4 separate regions of the Homo sapiens genome follow, and regions 1, 2 and 3 are each linked to region 4. The links are contacts of gene promoters, found by promoter capture Hi-C in blood cells and fetal thymus (Javierre and others, 2016). All regions are on one chromosome and are shown on one strand. The core of a region is centred on a gene start or on the middle of the fragment in contact, and the rest is flanking DNA. Distances in the headings are between cores, read along the strand shown. Region 1 overlaps RASSF8 (Ras association domain family member 8). Region 2 overlaps RASSF8 (Ras association domain family member 8). Region 3 overlaps RASSF8 (Ras association domain family member 8). Region 4 holds the start of KRAS (KRAS proto-oncogene, GTPase).

Region 1 (4,961 bases), core at 687-3,186, 710 kb after region 4:
TCGCACAAAGCCGGAAGATTCAACTTGAAGGGACGCGAGCTTTGAATGTGGGTCCTGGTGCGGCACTGGGTTTTAAAAGATGAGTACTTGGGTTCGGAATCCAGTGTTGCGTTGTTATTTTAGCATCATAGAGCCGCCTGGTGTTGCTAAACCACTACTTTCCCAGCCTCAAATGGCATCTTGAACAGTGCAACGTAGGATATATAATTGCGGGTCAATATTGTTGCTGATCTTTAGGGATTTAGAAGCGAAATGAATGCAAATCACGTCTCATAGCTGACTTAAACCTGTCAGGTTAGCCCTGTCAGGTTAGCATTAAAGCATTTCATTAAAAAAAAAAATCCTCTAGCCCTGTGACAGCAGGGACGAACATTTATGGATTTTCCAGTAGATTGTGGCTCAGCAATTCATTAGATCTGCTTTGTCCCCAGGAAGCATTTTAAAATATGTATAAATCTCTGCTTTTCTCTCCATTAGATTAACCACTCATTCTGGTAGGGGGCCCCAGGTAGTTTTTATTTTCTTTTTTGCCTTTCATCTTGGAGTTGCCAGGAGTTGCCATCATGTTATGAAGGAACAGAAAATGAGAAGCTTTCTTAATGGGTTTTCGACATCCTGTCCTTTGCCAGAGTGAGGCGGTAGTGAATGCCAGCCAGCTTTCTGCAGGGAGAGGTGCAGGGTGGACGCAAAAATCAGGACGCAGGAGACAGCACTATCATTTGGGGAAGTGGTTTGTGTGAGTTTTATCTTTTAGCGGGCATACTAATGGTACTTTTAATTTTATTTATCTCTATGAGGCACACTCCCCAAACCATAAAATTACACATGACCATCCCCCACTTGAAGAAGACTGAACATAGTTTGATGATTATTCTATTCAAGGATCAAGTACAACAAAATATAATTTGTAATACAGATGATAAAACCTTTCAAAAATCTCCCCCTTCCTCATTTTTTTCCTCAAGAGTCTCCAGGTGGTACTTTCTGTGATGGACACAATTGGCAGTAATGCACTGAGTTCTTTCTAGGTTTATTGATCAAATCTTATGTCTGGGCTTTAGTAGCTTAGGGGTGCATTAGAGGGCCCTGAGAGGGAGCAAATCATGGGGCTGTGCAGGCAGGAAAGGCACTTCACTTTGCAGAAGTGTCAGTGTGCTTCTGGAAAAAACAGTTACAAAGAACAGAGAGTGTTTAAGTTGTTTATAGGATGCATGTTTCCTGAATTTGGCATTTGGTTCAGATATTTGGTAATTACAGATTTAAAATTCGACATGGTTGTATAATTTGTTTTGCCTTTTATTTATTTTTTTAAGGTTGCAACCTTTTAACCTGAATCTTCAGTGTTTGGCTCTTGTAGGCTTCTATACGTGGTGACTTACGTCAGTTTTTGACCTGACTGCCTTGTGTTTTGAGAAATGATTAGTTCTTCAGGGTTTCTGACTCATTAATTGATCTGTTTTATGTTGATGTATATAATGACTTGGAAGTAAAAATATTGTTTGCCGTGGGATATTGTTGTCTTTTTCTTATGGTTAATTCCTGGCATAATGGCTTTGCTCCTTTATTATAAAACATTAAGATCTTAGATATCTTGCTAGTGTTCAAAACATTACAAAACTCTTTGCAAGTAAAAGTGGAGTGGGAATGGGAGTTGGATAGAAAAACATGCATCATAAATTAAAGATTTGGATTACAAAATAATATAACGTTTATTTACTCTTCTTTGATGCTAACTTGCTCTAACCCTAAATAGACTTAAAAATTCAAAGTGTAGAGAGAGTTTCCAAGTATTCTGTATAGTGGAAAGAATGTTTACCCCACTGCCAGCCAGACTTGGGTTGCACGTGTGACTTTGTCACTCCCGAGGTGAGTGAGCTCGGCCATGCCACTTCAGCCTCTGTGATCTACAGTTGCATTTCTGGAAAATGGGGATACCACTACTTAAAGGGATGCTATGGTGAGTAGAACATCTAATATATATTAGATGTGCCTGGCACATTTCAGCCAATAAATGACAACATCTCAAACTCCTTCAGAATTGAGCTCTTGGTCACTCAAACTTTCAAACTGTTCCCCCTCCATTTTTCATCTCATCCATCCAAGGAGTAGCTCACTCCACTCTCTCTTTTCTTCTATCAGCCCTAGCAAACCAGTCCATCATAAAGTCCTGCTGTCCATTTTTATTGCAAAATCTCTTTCAAACCGGTCTGATTTTCAGTCCCCACTATTCTGCCATCCTAATGCAAGCCACTGTACTGTATTATCTTTTTCCTTGGTGCGGTGCCTCCTGCACACACTCTGCACCCCTTGCAGTCTGTTTTACTACCAGCAGCCTGAAAAAAAAAAGAAAAAGTATTTGCCGTCTTAAAGTTGTCAGGGCTCTCAGGAAACACATTTATTTATTTTTGGGATAAGATACCAAATCCTTGACATTACTTCAGGATCCTGCATGATTTGATCTCTACATCCACTTGCATCTCTTGCTGTCATCTTGGCCAGTTCTCCAGCAGACTAGCCTCAGGCCTGTGGCTCATGCTGTTGGTCTCCCTATTTTAGGATCATCTCCTTGAGTAACTTATCATCCTTGGGTGCTAGCTCAAATGTCCTTTCTCATAAAGGTCTTCTCTGACAAGCCCACCCTTATCGTCATGCGAATTAAATGTCCTTTATTTTCTCCCTCATAGCGTAATCACTTTTGCTTCTGAATATTTACCACAATTTATATATTATTTAATCACTTAGGGTCCTTTTCTTGCCCTTTAGGTTAATATGAAGTTGATAATACCTGGTTTAATCACCAGTGCCCAGTATATGTAGTAGGTGCTCAATAAATATGTTGATATAATGAGTAAGATCGTAATATCAGTTTGTATCTTTATCTTTTTTTTTTGAAATGGAGTCTTACTATGTTGCCCAGTTGGTCTTAAACTCCTGGCCTCAAGTGATCCTCCTGCCTCAGCCTCCTGAGTAGCTGGGACTACAGGTGTGTGCCACCATGCCTGGCTTCTGTATTTGTATCTTGATTGCCTTCTTTATCACTGTTAAATTTGCTTTTCATGATAGAAAAGCCAGACCCACACTTTTCTATATTCCTTCTTTGCTGGTTATATGTATAATATGAAACGGCCTTTGCAAATATCAGGTAAAAATGCATGTAGGTTCTGTGAAATATTCGTAGTAATAAATTGAGACACCTTTTAATTAGTGTTACCCTTGTGACTTTCTGTTGTACATAATCCTTTTTCTAAATACATCATTAAAATAATTATTTTTTTATCAGCATAAGCTTACTGAAAGGAAAAAAAATCTTACTGTGCCTTACTATTTTACAGAGCGTCACATGATAACACGTTAGTCAGCTGCTGTCGGCTGGTGGTGCCAGACATCAAAGGAAGATTGGGAAAACTTTAGTAGAAAAACAAGACCTAGAGTTCTAAGGATGCTCAGTGCTGTCCAGCTGTTGATGTGACTTGCATGGTAACCAGACATCACTGGACCATACACTTAAGAGAGAGGAGGAGTTTTTTTTAAAAAAAGTGGGAGCCACCTAGAAGTCTGGAAGTTCTTTTCTTCTCTCTCACTAAAGCATTCCTTGTTTTAGCCAAAAAAAAAAAAAAAAAAAAAAGTCTCATGACCTTCCAAGGCCAAGGAAGGCTTACAGCTTTGAGTATTTTTGTCATGTGGTTGCTCTTTACGAAATATTAGCTTGATGTCCTCTAACTCTGAAGTACTTATGTCTGTTATTGATGTTTGTAATCTCTACTTCTTACATAATTCTGCATTTTTCTCTTGACTTGTTTTTTAGGACTTTAGTATTCCTTAAAAATCATTTCCTCACACCCTTAGAGTGTAGTTCTAGTTCTTTCTAGTTTTGTATCTTATAGATCACTGAGTGTGTGGGGGCACTTTGGAGCTGATTCAAGTCCTTCAGAACGTACTCCTCTGCAGTCCACCTCGGGGGTTCCCAAACTGTGATCCTTTGAGTGGTCTGGACCCTGAGGTTTCCGTAGCCTGGGTGCTCTTGGGTTGGGAGAGCAAGGAGGATGAAAGCAGCATTTTTGAGCCCCTGTTGGGTGCTCTCGAAGAGGAGGAGTGAGTAGTTTATCTGGTCAGAATTGGAAAAGTGAAGCTTAGGCTTTCTTTCCATATATTTGCTTCACAAAAGAAAATTGTTCCTTTTGTTCCTACATTTCCCCACTCCTGATTTTCTAGTCAGGAAGGCATGAGAAGAGAGAGATGCCCCTGCAAGCCAGACCCTTACCCTGGTGCTTATTTAGACCTGATTTTAAAAATGTTGAGAGCAAGCCCTGAGAGGGGCACACCAGGTGATTTGCCTCGTGTAGGCCCTCTGTGCCTGCAGGACATTCGCATCACGAGTAGCTGCCACTGTGGAGGAGAGGAAAGTTATGGTTGGGAACCCTTGTTATTTTTTTTCCACCATGTATATATGTCCACTGGTTACTTGGGTGACCTTGAACAAGTTGCCTTGAGCTTTTTAACACCAATAATATTTATTACCCATTTATTTCACAGACTTGCTATAGGATTTAGAAAGCTATTCTTAGCAAGTGTTTTTTTTTTTTTTTAAATCACATTCAGATATATCACAAAATATTGCAGTGAACTGTAGGGCTGTCCAAATTTTATGTATGCAGCAAAATATTTTCTTACTCATTAGCATATGTTTTACTCTTTGTTTTAAAAAGAAATCAGATGTAAATGCAGGTTATAACAAGAGGAGAGCTGTGATGGTTTGCTACCAGGTTTTATGTAGGTAATATATTTTGTCACTGTTGTTATATTTGGTCACTGTTGTTAGCTATCATTGGCTCGTGAGTGCTAAATCATGTTTATCCTTATAGTAATTTTACTATTGGAAAATCGCTTAAGACTAAATTATTCTTCCAGATACAAGTATATATGTTTAAAAGAAATTGGGATTCTCTTTAATGGATAGATAT
Region 2 (4,758 bases), core at 1,929-4,428, 740 kb after region 4:
GGGATTATAGGCATGTGCCACCATGCCCAGCTAATTTTGTATTTTTAGTAGAGACAGGGTTTCTCCATATTGGTCAGGCTGGTCTCGAACTCCCAACCTCAGGTGATCCACCTGCCTCGGCCTCCCAAAGTGCTGGGATTACAGGCATGAGCTACCACGCCTGGCCCAGGATTGAACTCTTGACATTTGGAGCCGTTGCTAGGCAGTGAGTGTTCATGATATGAACTGACCAAAATCCACAGTACATCTTGTGAGCTATGCGGTCATGCCTCTTAGATTTTTTTGACTAGCCTGGAGCCAAATTGAACATTATTAACACAGCATTACAGCCAATATAAGCTTTCATCAAGGAGAGTATACCAAAATTGAGCCAAAAACTGGGATGCTTTAATTCCATACTAAGGCAGGAAATGATAAGGTTTCAGAAACAGGTAAAGTATAATCTGTACAAGTGCCCGGTTTAAGTGGTGTTTAAACCTAAGGATAATTTTTTCTTCAGCTTGAAGTGGCTTTATTGTTTATGCTTTTCTTTGCACTGAAATAAGGACAATATTCAGAATTAACATACATTATGCAACAGCTCAATTTAGGAAATTAAATAGTTGTTTAAAACATACTTGAACATGCCAACACATTGTATTCATTTTCTATCCAACAGTAGAATATTATTCACTTTCTATATTTTTTGCCTTTTAAAATATATGCCAAAAATTTCTACCAGCTCTTTTTTAAAAAGAGAATGAAGGTCATTGTTGCTTGAAATTAATTTTTGGTTTTTTATTATTTATTTATTTATTTTTTCGAAATGGAATCTCACTCTGTCACCCAGGCTGGAGTGCAGTGGCGTGATCTCGTCTCACTGCAACCTCTGCCTCCCGGGTTCAAGCGATTCTCCTGCCTCAGCCTCCTGAGTAGCTGGGACTACAGGCATGCACTACCATGCCTGGCTAATTTTTTTTTTTTTTTTGTACTTTTAGTAGAGACAAGGTTTCACCATGCTGGCCAGGCTGGTCTCAAACTCCTGACCTCGTGATCTGCCTGCCTCGGCCTCCCAAAGTGCTGGGATTACAGGTGTGAGCCACCACGCCTGGTCGAAATTAATGTTATTTTTTAAAAAATGAATTCCTTCCTAGCATTTGAGCTTGCTTTTTTAGTAGGCTCTTTTTAAAATAAGTTTTTTTGAGACCATAAAGGGAACACAGTGGGAAAAAGTATAAAACATCCATGCAGACAGCCTTCAACTCAAAACTGTCAGGTCTTTAAAAGCAATCTTGGAACTTTTCTTTTTGTCTGGTAGCAGTCCTATTATTGAACAGATGGTTAATTCACACAATAAGCTGGATAATCAAATCCGATGAGCTAAGATGGGGTTAACTAGAGCAATCTGTAGTATTTAGAAAAATTTCCAGGGTGATTGGGGAATGGTGACTGCAGTCATTATTTGGGATTCGTTTCTGTTAGTACAAAAATAGAACTTAAAGTCACAATTTAATAAAAAAAATTTCTTTCATTTAGAAAATAGCCCTCTCCCTCATGACTAAACAATCATTTGTAGGGGAGAAGAAGAGAGATTTGTATCAGCCACCTGCACTGCCAGTTCAGGAAATAGTATGTGAAATTCCTGCTTTATCAGGAACCCCTCCTGGCCTTCCTCTGGTTCTCATTTATTGAGTTTGCCAGATCCTGTGCTAGGTGGTGGGACCATAAAGAAGAAATGGGATGGGATTCCATGGTATGGTAGGGAAATGGGTCTAAACAAGTAACAAAACAGTGTGGAAACCTCCCGAGAATTCCTATAGTATGTTTAGAGAAACTGTCTCCTGGAGGATGGTTCACAACATCTGTTTAATTACCTTTGTAATTTTCTTCACTTAACTTAAAAACTAGTTAGCTTTTTGAATTTTTCTTGATTTTAGAAAGCATCTCTGAGGGGTATGCCTATCTTGCTGGAATTCTGCAAACTCACTGTGCCTCCAACAGAGCCTTGTACTTACCAAGCGGTAGTAAAGACAGATTTACAATGTCTCCTTTGCAGAGTGATTCTACTTGTCTGTTCTTCAGGTTTCTTTCCCTCCCAACATTTCTGCCTGTCAGAATGTTTTCTCTTAAAACTAAGGCCCAACCATATGTTTTCTCATAATCACTGGGTCACACCCACAGCCATACTGTTCTTTTCTGGGGGCTTCCTTGATGTAAACCTTTAGTATGTCCTGATTTCACATTTTCTGATGTGTGTTCTATAGTGAAACACAGTTTCTACTACTAGTGTGTTTTATATTTGTCTTAATCTATAGGCATTTAACAGTGTCTTTCTTTCCCCCCACCCCCTCTTTCTTTCTGATTCAAATTGGAATGATAGAAGACACCTAAATAATATGATGAATACTTATCAAAACGGCGAAGTTGGTTTTCTGAAAAAAGCTCTCTGTTGTGTGAAATATTGAAGTGTTATCCAGGAGAAGGAGACTTTATTCAAATAGTCATCTTATAGCTTGTCTACTAAAGTTGATGAAATTCATTTTCCAAACTGGTTTAAACAAAAATGATTACTTAGCTATTTAAAAAACAATTGATCATATCTCTTTCTTGTCTTATCCCTTCTCCTCTGCCACTCTTCTGATTTCTTGCATAACATTTAATAACAAATCATAAGACTAACAAGGATGCATTTCAATTCCTTATGGTTTATGGATCAGTTTATTAGGTCAAGGGTGTGGTGGGGCATGGGGGTGGAGGAATTATGGTAGAGAGTATGAACATTTGCTAAGAGCAGCATGGGATAGGTGAATTTACCCAGTATGGGAGTCTGGCAGAAGTTTTAAAATCAAGTACATCTGAGTTCAAATCAGGGCTCCACCGTTTACTAGTCACCTGAACCCGGGAAGGTACTAAATCTGAAATCTTAGTTTCTTCATGTGCAAAATGGAGACTGTAGGATTGACCTTGACAAGGTTGTGAACAGTGTCTGAACTGGGCAGAGTGGTGCCTGGGACTTATTTGTTGAGTGCCTATTATTACTTTTTAAAGCAAGGAAATGCATCCTGATCAAGTCACCTAATCTTAACCTCAACTTTGTATAACCTGTATAATGGGAATATTGATAAATTAATGTGAAAAAAGTAAAAAAAATTACAGCCATATATAAGCATAAGGGGCTTATTTCATGAAGGCTTCCTGGATATCCACCAGCCATTAGTGATTTCTCTTGTATGAACTCTGCTGTAGCTTTTTTCCAAATCTCTTTGGTGTTTATCAAACATTTATTTGATACTATTGTTACTAGGCATTAGTTACATTTCACAAGTACTGTAGTTAGTGGAATGAAACCCATATCTTCATCATTGTAATCCCTGTGGTATTTTAAATATGATAAGAGCTTGGTAAAGGTTTATTATATAAATAATTAATTTTGGTATTACCATTTTTCTCTGCTTTGCAAACTAATATAGCTTAATAGCATCATAATGGATTTATTTCCATAGAATATCTACCTTATTGTTTCTGTGATCATCTTATTAACATTTCATATGGACTATGTAAAACCTAAGATACCTTCCTTACTAACATTGTGTATTGCGTTTAGCAAAACTGAATTATATTTGGAGATGTAAGTCTTTGTATTTTGATGACAAGGTGAAAAAACCACCTTGAATGTTCCCACTCTTTTATTAGACAACAAAAATTTAGGAATAGTTTAGAATTCTGTAGTATTTATAGTTTATTTTGTGGATACACAGGGATATCACTTATGAAAATGTGCTACCATAGTTTATTTGTAGTTGAATATTTACAATTTCAAACGGGTTTTCTCTTTTCAATAAAAAGAAATGTGCCTAAAAAAATACACACACACACACACAGAAAACATTTTGGGGATCTTGGAGTCACAGAGTAGAGAGTAGCTGGTTTCCTCCAAAACTTTTAGACTTTTTAGCTGATCTATAATACTTAAATAACCAGAGCAATAAACTCTTCTCATTTTTACAGTAATAGAAATGTCAATATTGTCCATTGATTATCTGTCCTGGTGGGCCTAGTTTGGAGGAAGGGAGCACACCCAACAATTAATCAGCTGTCATTAAAAGAAATATACAAGGAAATGAAGGGTTTGCATTCTTCTGTTGTTTAAAAAAAAAAGGTAGAGCCTCTTGGAAACTGGAATTTATTTTGCTCTTGAGTTATTCTTGAGCATTCTATTTTGCTTTTGTTCAGTGTTTAGAAATTACAATAACCTGATATTGTGTTAACATCAATAACTTCTATTTGCATTGCTATAAACTATTTAATTTAAATAAATTACTTATTACTGCATAACAAGTTGCCCCATGCCTACAGACGTAACTTTTTTTTTTTTCTTTTTTTGAACTCTCACCTAGTTTCTTTGGATCAGGGATCCAGGAATGGCTTGGGTGAATGGTTTTAATTCTGGATCTTTAATAAGGTTGCAACCTAGGTGACAGTCCATTTTGTACGTAGTCTACATGAAGGTTTGACTGGGGCTGGAAAATCTACTTCCAAGGTGGTTCACTCACATGCCTCACAAATTTGCGCTGGTTGTTGGCAGAAGGCCTCAGCTCCTCACCATGTGGACCTCTCCATAGGGCTGCTTGAATGTCTGGCTTATATCAGGACAAGTGATCAGAGAGAGCAAGATGGAAGCTACCATGTCTTTATGTCATCATTCCACAATATCCTGTTGGCTGTACAGGTTATCTCTGTTCATTGTAGGAGAAGAATACACAAGGGTGTGAAAACCAT
Region 3 (4,796 bases), core at 907-3,406, 780 kb after region 4:
ATATTTCTTATTCAGAGTAATCTAAAAAATCTGAGGAGATGCTTCAATGGCTTAATCTGACCTATATGTTTTGCTTATAAATATGTTTCAAAATATCCTGTTTCTCATCATCATGTTAGTTACTTTGATGAAATACATGTTTTGGTTTACATTTATGTGCATGATGTCAGCAGCTTACAGTACATGAAGGAAACTTCCCATATCCCAGAAGTAGTGACTTAGGAGAACTATGGTCTTGAGATGCTTGGAAATTTTGTATCTGGAAAATTTACCAATCAGGGAATTTTCCATTGAGCTTGCTTTTTTGAAAAGGTCCTTCAGTTTGTAGCAGTTTGTTAGCCCAGTTTATCCTTTCTTGTGATGAGCTAGTCATTTTGCATTTTCACATATAAAACTTTGAAATGTCTTTTAAAAAGTTTATGGGAATATTGTGTATGTTATTGCTTCATTTTCCCCGAAAGGAAGTGGGAGAAATTTGAGTCATTAATATACATTAAAATTCTGTGTATGTTTTTCGTACTCATAGCAGGTTGTTCCAAATCATCTAGGTAACAAACTTTGGAATGTTGATAGAAAACAAACTTCTAGCACTGTTTGTATGGAGAAGTATTTCCCAAAGTCAAGTTCTAGGACTCTTGGGACTGTTTCATGGCTGAGTCAAAGGTTCCCTTGTGACATGTGAATTTTTAGGAAGGAGAACAATGACAAATTTTTTTGAAATTGCTACATTAGCATGCAACAAAAAATTCTGAGGGAAATGTTTCCTGGCAGTTTTTTTATTATATTTACCTGCAATTTATAGCTTAAGGGAGTTTTAACCCATGAAACCTCCAAATCTATTAAAAGTGAAAAGAGCTAGATAGATTTCATTAGCATGCGTAATGCCCAGTTTCCATACCCATCTATAATCATTTAAAGCAGGAATCATAATGGGAATATGAGCTGAGAAATTCTGTTGATGTTTGAAATGTCTGGAGTGTCAACATAATTAAACAGCGTATGTACACAATTGGCCCTGCTCCAAAACCAGTGATTATGTGTCTAACATCAATCCCCATGTGTCTACAAAGCTGTTAGAGTAAACATCTGGAATCTTTTACTACCAAAGCTAAAATATTACATAATCAGTTAAAAGAAAGAGCTTCCTACCCACAGAGGTCCTGCAGAGAGCAATGTATGCTGTGATCTTGTTTTCAAGCAGGCCTGTCTTCTTTAGAGTAGCAACTAAATATATTAGATACTTCAACTATCCTTGAAATGTGACTTTTCCCCTGAGGTAAATACTAAGGATGGTTTAAATGTTGCTAAATGGTTCAGCTGAATCATAAATACTCTGTAATGAGACCAGAGGGGATCAAGTTGATCAGTGGGAGACCACATTCTTACCAAAACTGAGGCTCAGCTCTCAGGCCATTTCAAGGTATGCTGGAGTTCCTTTGAGCAAAAGAATTTGGTATTTTCTCATGTATGTATTGAAGCACTAAGTAAAAATTGTGATCTTTCAGGTCATAACAGAAAACCCACAAATTGTTTTATAGCATGTTTTTGATTTCACAATATAAAATGACAAGAATAATGAGATCTTCCACATCTTTTTATATTTTTCCACTATATTTGTGTTAAAGCTTAGGTATTATTTTCATTCTTTCATGCTAAAAGCACATTAGCATTTTCTAGAATGTAAGTGGTTTTGCTAGAAAAATGATATTAATATGATTATCCAGATTGTTATTTTGGAGGGAAAAAGGAAATAAGTTCTGCAAACACTGTTGGGTTTCTTTTTTTTAATGATAGAGGCATAAGATGAATAGTATCCATCTTCATAGAAAGAAAGAAACGTAGAGCCAAGTATTGAAATTTTTTAATGGCATATTTCTTTGTGGAGGTGAAAACTGTTTCTTTGCATTTAATATGCACATCTGCCTTGTCCCTGTCAAGTTTGCCACCTTCCAGATAAAGGTTGAATGCCAGGACTCTCAAATCAGCCTCCACTCAGATCTCAGCTCCCATCTCCTACCAGTTGTATTGTCTCCAACTAGTTCACCTTTCTGAGCCTCCAGGGCCTCATTTGTAAAATGGGGATGAGAATAAAAACATGACCTCAGTGGATTATTCTGAGTCGTTGTATGTGCCTAGCAAAGAGGAAGCACTTGGATCTGCTGGTGCCTTCTCCCCACCACCATCATGTCGACCAGACCCCAGCAAGCTAGCAGGGAGGTGGTGGTGGAGTGGGGAGAAAGATGTTCCAAGCAGAGGAAGCAATACATGGCAGGGCAGGGAGATGTGGCTGCCTCACAAAGGTGGGGAGTAGTTGAAGAACGGGCTGGAGTGAGGTGGGCAAATGGTAAGCACGTGGCACACTGTTCAACTAAGATAATCACAGCATTAGCTGGGATTTGGGGGTGAAGGAGTAGGAGTGAGGGGAGATGTGTCAATGTCCCTAAGTCCACAGGGGCAGGACAAAATAGCCCTATGGTCTGTCTAGGACAGAGGTGTTCAATCTTTTGGCTTCCCTGGGCCACATTGGAAGAAGAATTGACTTGGGCAACACATAAAATACACTAACAATAGCAGATGAAGTAAAAAAAAAAAAAAAATCTCATGATGTTTTAAGAAAGATTATGCATTTATGTTGGGCCGCATTTAAAGCCATCTGGGCCGCATGCAGCCCGCAGGCCACATGTTGGACAAGCTTGATCTAGGATTTCTATCATTCCTACCACTTCCAAAATTAAACTCATTCTTTTCAGTGGGAATGACTAAGCAAATAATCTTAGGGGGGAGAAAAAGATCATTATTCTTTCTGACAGGCTAAGTAACTCCTATTCCTTTTCCTCCAGCATTTATTTCCCATATTTCGAAATTAAGGAACCTCCTACTTTTTACATCCTAGCTAGAATGCATGAGGGGAAATCAAACAAGGGTGGGATAAGATCCAAACACAGCAAAATTATTTATTACATCTTTTCCATGTAATGTGCCTATTAAAATTCATGATATTTAAGCTACATTAAAAAAAAACATCTAACTAAAAAACACCATACAGCAGATTCACCAAGTGTAGATGCATTCTCATTGGTTTGTTGTAGACTGCTTTTACCTTTCTAGGTACTGTTTGTCATAGCATTTGGTTTTTAATTTCTGTGTGAATTAGTCACTATGAACTATCCTATTTTTGGTATTATGGTGATTACTCTGGTGTTGCCCTATAAACTTTAATAGACGTTTTTCCAGTTGTCCAATACTACTGGTAAAAATTATTAATCCCTAGAAGTAAGGTTAGTTAATGAACTTCTCTTCTAGGCTGTACTAAGGCACTGACCCCTACTCTGTGGAAATGGCTTTCCAACCAGTTTTACTCTTGTATGATAAGTTGTAGGGTTTAGTGATAGCTAGTCCCTGTCTTCAAAGTTGGCTGAGAAGAATGCTACTTCGGCTAGAAACAGAAGAACTTCTTCACACAGTTAATATTTCTTTAAACAAAATGAAAGTGTTTATTGTAAGAGAAAAAATTTTAAGCCCAGAAAATACTGAAAAGATGAAATTATATAATCATATAATATAATTATATGAAATTATATAATTATATAAGTATATGAAATTATATAATTATATAATATAAGTATATGAAATTATATAATTATATTATATAATTATATAATTATATGAAATTATATAATTATATAATATAATTATATGAAATTATATATAAAAATTATATATAGTGTATATATTTTATATTATATATTGTATATATAATTTTATATTGTATACATAATTATATATATAATTTTATATAATTATATAATTTCACCTTTTCAGTATTTTCTGGGCTTAAAATTTTTTCTCTTACAATAAACACTTGTTTTTTTTTAAAGAAATGTTAACTGTGTGAAGTTCTTCCATTTCTAGCCCAAGTAGCATATAATACATATATCACTATATATCTGATATATATGATATACATCACTAGATATACAATATATGAAATTATATATAATATAATTTCATATAATTATGTATTATATAAAATATAATAAAATTATATATTATATATTATATATAATTATAATCATATATGATTTCATATATATGATATATATCATATATTTCATATATTTTTATATATTATATATTTATAATTTATATATATATAAAGCCATCCATGATTTCACTCCTCTGAGCATAAGGGCCCAAACTCAGTCTAAAGGGCAGATACCATGACAGCTTCTTCATTTTAGCTTTTTTCTTCAGCTCAAATCCATTCAAGAACAACCTAGTTTACTCCCAGTGATCACTCATTCATCTCTTTAATATTAATCTACATCTGGGCCTCTCTTGCTTAAATCCATGTTCCTCGCTAACTTCTGGATAAGATCAGCAATGGCAGAGACGCTCTGAATATTTTTTGTGAATCATATCTTTATAATTGGAGGGCACATCGGGGGAAACCAATGGCTTCTGTTTCTGTTTCGTTTTGTTTTGTTTCATCCATCCCTTCAAGAAAAAGAGAAGGCTTCTGTTTCTTGAACTGAAAAATTCTTACCAAGGAATAAATAGAAAAGCATTTAACAAAAATTTAAGCTATTCTTAAAATTTTGATACTTATTTCAATATTTATTATTTTTTAGAAAGTTATTTTTATATATGGGCCATTTGGAACAGTTTCATTTTTTAAATTTTAATGTAAGATGTCCTAATTTTTATTTTAAAAGAGCCAAGATGACTTTGAGACTAATATTTAATATTTAATATAGCCCAGAAGACTGGTAACTTGAATTTTTTAAAAAGTGTAT
Region 4 (4,861 bases), core at 503-3,002:
ACGAGGTCAGGAGTTCTAGACCAGCCTGACCAACATGGTGAAACCCCCGTCTCTACTAAAAATACAAAAAATTAGCCGGGCATGGCAGCAGACACCTGTAATCCCAGTTATTCGGGAGGCTGAGGCAGGAGAATTGCTTGAATGCAGGAGGCAGAGGTTGCAGTGAGCCGAGACGGCGCCACTGCACTCCAGCCTGGGCAACAGAGCAGATGGAGACCATCCTGACCAACATGATGAAACTCTGTCTCTACTAAAAATACAAAAATTAGCTGGGCATGGTGGCGTGCACCTACTAGTCCCAGCTACTCGGGAGGCTGAGGCAGGAGAATTGCTTGAACCCAGGAGGCGGAGGTTTCAGTGAGCCGATACCGCGCCATTGCACTCCAGCCTGGGCAACAGAGCGAGACTGTGTCTCAAAAAAAAAAAAAAAAAGGAGATGCACATGTTTAAGTCTATTTCAGGCGGTTAGCTGGTGGATTGCTACAATTCCTCTGTAAGTTTAAAAAATCATGTAAGTGCTGTTTTGGAGTACTGTAATAACTCTTGAGATGTAGAACACATCTGCAAAATGAGGGTAGTATAAAAGAGACGAGGGGATGAGGGTAATACATAAGAAATAGGGGAAAGGACAAGAACAGGTAAATTAAACTTCAAGTACTATTTTTGCTATTGCTGTCTACACTCAACTAGCAAGGAAAAAGCCTTGCTTCTGCTCTGCGGGTTTTCTTCGGGTTTAACTTGACCAAGCAAAACAGACCATCTGGGATTAACTTTTTCCTTTTCACTGTAGGTCACAGGCTCTACGTGTAGGGTGTTGGCCACCTGTTCTTCCACCATCTCTACCTCCACCTCCTCCTTTGTGGCCACAGCAATGTCACAGCCCATACATGGGGGAGGGGAGCATTCAGGAACTCGGAGGCAGATGCATTTTTTTCCAAACACAATAACCTCAAACAGTGGTCTCTAAGCACTTTCCTATGCTCTTCCAAAACGTGACCTCCCCTCTTACTCACACATCCCCTACACACGGAAAAGGACCACTATCCGTCCAGCCTGCGCTCGAGGGAGAAGTTTATACCTTCGTCCTAGAGATGCCAAATGCAGCAGGGAAGGCTGGACCGAGGCAGCCGAGTGCTGGAAAGGGAGGCAAGAGGTGCGGGAGCGGGGAGAGGGGGAGGGGAGGCCGGGGCGCCGCGGGAGTAACCTCCACCGCACCCCACCGCTCCGAGGGGCAGCCGGCCCGGCCCGAGTTTCTCCCCAGAAGCCTCCAGCCGCGGCTCTCGGGGAGGAGGAAGGAAGGGGTTCCCCGTCCAGGAAGCAGCACCAGCGGCGACCGCCTCCAGCCTCACCCTCCTCAGCCCCGCACCGCCCATTCCTCACTCCCCGCGCCGCCGCGTCCGCGCGCCTCCCCCCTGCAGACCCCTCTCACCCAGCCCGCCCCGACCCCGCGCCCGCGCCCCCCACCCGCCCCTCCGGGGACCCCTAATTCATTCACTCGCCGCCGGCCCCGCCCGGCGCCGGCAAAGAGGGTCGGGACCCGGGCAGGGGCCCAGGAGGGGTGGTCCGCTCCGTACCTCTCTCCCGCACCTGGGAGCCGCTGAGCCTCTGGCCCCGCCGCCGCCTTCAGTGCCTGCGCCGCGCTCGCTCCCAGTCCGAAATGGCGGGGGCCGGGAGTACTGGCCGAGCCGCCGCCACCTTCGCCGCCGCCACTGCCGCCGCCGCTGCTGCCTCCGCCGCCGCGGCCGCCGCCTAGGAAAATCGAGCTCCGAGCACACCGATGAGTTCGGGGCCGGGCGGCCGCAGAGGGCAGAGCTATCGATGCGTTCCGCGCTCGATTCTTCTTCAGACGGGCGTACGAGAGGGAGCGGCTGAGGGCGGTGTGGGAAGAGGGAAGAGGGGGAGGCAGCGAGCGCCGGCGGGGAGAAGGAGGGGGCCGGGCCGGGCCGGCGGGGGAGGAGCGGGGGCCGGGCCGGCGGAGGAAGGGGTGGCTGGGGCGGTCTAGGGTGGCGAGCCGGGCCGGCTGGAGAGCGGGTCTGGGCGGCGCCTTGGCGGGAGGAGGGACTGCCGGACCCACGCGGCGGCCCGCCCCCTGCCTAGCCGCAAGGCTGTCCCCGCAGCCGCCAATTCTGACCCGGAGCGGGACCGGACCGCGGCGGGCTGTGCGGATGCCACCAGGGAGACGCCGCGAGCGGCCACGCCGCCCCGCTGACCGGTCTCCACAGAGAAGCTGCGAAGAGCACCCCGCCACCCTCAGGGTCGGCCTATACTGGCGCGCATCCATTTACTATCATTGACTGCATGTAAATAAACAAGCAGTCACCAAAAGTGGGAGGCGACTTCGGGGACTTAGGGAGACCGGGCGGACGATTTCCCACACCGGGGCTGTCTGATCGCCGCCCCGATTATTATCAGCCTCAGCACTTGGGCTGGGAATTTAGCCCCAGGCCCAAACAAACACGACAGACCCTTTCAACGCTAATCTTCTCGGGTCAGGAGGCTTGTGATATTTTGCTATCTTTCTTGATATTTTGAACCCATCACAAGGTCTCTAAACAGGGACTTCGCTTATACCCAGGGCCCCTGAAATCACAAACAAAAGACAACTGTTTTTAAGTAGAGATGGCCTTGGTAGTTTAGACCTGAGGAGAGTCATTCAAACATTAATTAGAAGACAGATTAATCAGTTAAAGTTCGTGGAGTTAAGACATTAAACAATGGGGCAATTAAACATGCTAGCATACCCGGAGTCTGTGTTGATAAACTACCTAGAAATGTATCTTGGGAGAGTCTTGAGGATTGAGGGCTGGAAAAGCAGCGCCTGTACCTGATAGGATCGCCCCTCCTCCGAGACTTTCAGTTCCATTCCTCTAGTCCACATCATAAACCACCAATAAAGCTGAATTTAAATCCCAGCTATTATGTCTGTTAACCAAGGCTTTACATCAACTGTCATCCTTTCCTTTCTACTCTTACACGGGCTGTAATCTGCAAGGTTTATTCCAGTCTCCCCCTCCTAGCGCCAGGTGGAAGGGGCAGAAGAGAAAAGTGAAAGACAGGGAAGGGGAGAAAATGTGCCTACTCTATGTTAAGTACAAGCTAAATCTTTTGCACTTATCGTATCATCTTATTTAATCATCACGACAACCTTATGAGGTAAAATACTTTTTACCGTTTTACAAATGACGAAACAGATTTAGAGGTTAAAACGTTGGCACAAGTTCACATAGTTAAAAAATGGAGTATACTTCATGTCGGATCATAGTCACTCTACTCCCAGATCATCAGTGGCCCTCATTCCACTTGACATAAAAGCAAAATTCTTCTCAAAAATCCTACATGGCCTTAAATTATTTGATATCCCCTACCCTCTTCTCTGAACTCTCATCCTACTGTTCTCCCTTCCTTACTTACGTAGATAAACATTGGTTACTGGCTGTTCCTTGAAAATGCCAGGCAGGCGTCTTCCTCAGGGAATATGCACTTGCTACCCCTCTGGCACCTCATTTAAATCTTTGTTCCAAAGTGTTTTTAAAAGGAGATCTTCCCTAAAAAGATCATCTTTGATACTGTAATTTCGCCCTTGTCCCAGATCTGTCTCTTTTCCTACTTTTTCTCCAGAGCTCTCATCACCTTCAATAATACACTATCTATTTTGTTTTCTTGTCTCTCTACCATCAGAATGTAAGCTCCATGAGGGCATGGGTTTTGGTCTGTTTCATTTACTGCTAAATTTCCAGCACCTAAGACAGTCTCTGACACAAAAAGGCATTCAATAAATATTTATGGAATGTTGAATGAGTGAATCTGTGGACCCTCTGTGGATTCTAAATCCTAATCCATGAACTCTGTGACTCTAAATCTTTACTTTAGACAGAGTGTCTTAAACCTCCTGTCAATCTCTGTCTTCATCTTAACAAAATCTGCTTTGAAACTTAGGTCACCTTCTGATAAGCCACATTCCGTGCAGCTCAGAGATACTTATCTCGTACATAATAGACACAAGGAATTCTTAAATGAATGAATTTGCGCTTATGTGTATGCTACTTTGTGGTCACTCAAGCATAAATCACAGATTTATTTTGTACAACATCAAGTGCATGATAAGTTCTTGTTTCCTCTTACAGCTGTGAATATGATGTTCTTCCTATAGTTGATGTTCCATACATCTTAAAAGGACTATAATATAGAAGAGGGGAAAGCTTTATATAGCACTTTTATGCTGATTATAAAAATTCTGGCATTAGCAGAAACCTAATCCATCCACATGGTCTCAGTTATCATCTAGGCTCATGATTCGTAAAGCAAATCTGCATCCAACCATTTGTTCCACGCACCCCACACTCCAGTTTTACCTCAGACACTTTCTCTTTCCTTTTCACTTCCACAGCAATTTATACATATGGTATGTCAGGTCTTTCTGCCGTTCAGTCCTGGGTACTTTCTTAGAAGCCGGCACCACCTCCTTGCAACATTACCTTTCTTTCCTTAACATAGAGGTCTCAAGGGTAAATGCTTTAGGAATCACCTGCCATGCCTACCAAAAATGCAAGTTCCTAGGCCCCTCACCCAGATATTTTATTCAGTTGGTCTAAGGTAGACCAGTAATCTTCATTTTTAGCAAATCAAATGATCCTAAACTGGTAGTTCACTGTGTGCACATTGAGAAACTCTGATGTAGATATTCAAATTCTTGGCACCTGCACTTTCTACTGTCTTCAGGGGTTCCTCTTTCTCGAGCCTGGTGGCTCCCTTGAACAGTCTCCCTGGCTCTCCCTTCCCTTGCTCTCTCCAAGGACAAGCACACTGAAGTAGCCTGTGATCACAATGGGAAAGGGGGGAGGAAATAAAAAGTATAAGCATG

The links. The method cuts DNA at HindIII sites, captures the fragments that hold promoters and counts their contacts. A CHiCAGO score of 5 or more calls a contact.
Region 1: a contact is called between a fragment that was not itself captured here and the fragment with the promoter of KRAS in region 4, in 2 of 17 cell types (M1 macrophages and fetal thymus). The highest score is 5.3, in M1 macrophages.
Region 2: a contact is called between a fragment that was not itself captured here and the fragment with the promoter of KRAS in region 4, in 1 of 17 cell types (M1 macrophages). The highest score is 5.5, in M1 macrophages.
Region 3: a fragment that was not itself captured here is called in contact with the fragment with the promoter of KRAS in region 4 in 1 of 17 cell types (M2 macrophages); the score reaches 6.7 in M2 macrophages.

What each region holds. Positions count from the first base shown.
Region 1 is chr12:25,959,719-25,964,679 of GRCh38, forward strand. The region is part of intron 1 of RASSF8 (Ras association domain family member 8); the gene reads left to right. Among named protein-coding and RNA genes, the nearest start is that of RASSF8-AS1, 2.8 kb to the left of the region's middle. The HindIII fragment of the contact is 2,695 bases long and covers 590-3,284 here.
Region 2 is chr12:25,987,068-25,991,825 of GRCh38, forward strand. All of the region lies in intron 1 of RASSF8 (Ras association domain family member 8), which reads left to right. Among named protein-coding and RNA genes, the nearest start is that of RASSF8-AS1, 30 kb to the left of the region's middle. The HindIII fragment of the contact is 5,683 bases long and covers 338-4,758 here.
Region 3 is chr12:26,031,826-26,036,621 of GRCh38, forward strand. All of the region lies in intron 2 of RASSF8 (Ras association domain family member 8), which reads left to right. Among named protein-coding and RNA genes, the nearest start is that of RASSF8-AS1, 75 kb to the left of the region's middle. The HindIII fragment of the contact is 1,067 bases long and covers 1,624-2,690 here.
Region 4 is chr12:25,249,177-25,254,037 of GRCh38, forward strand. KRAS (KRAS proto-oncogene, GTPase) reads right to left here and starts at 1,753. Exons shown (of 5, transcript NM_004985.5): 1 at 1,575-1,753. RefSeq lists silencers at 1,354-1,403, 1,464-2,313. The HindIII fragment of the contact is 14,779 bases long and covers 1-4,197 here.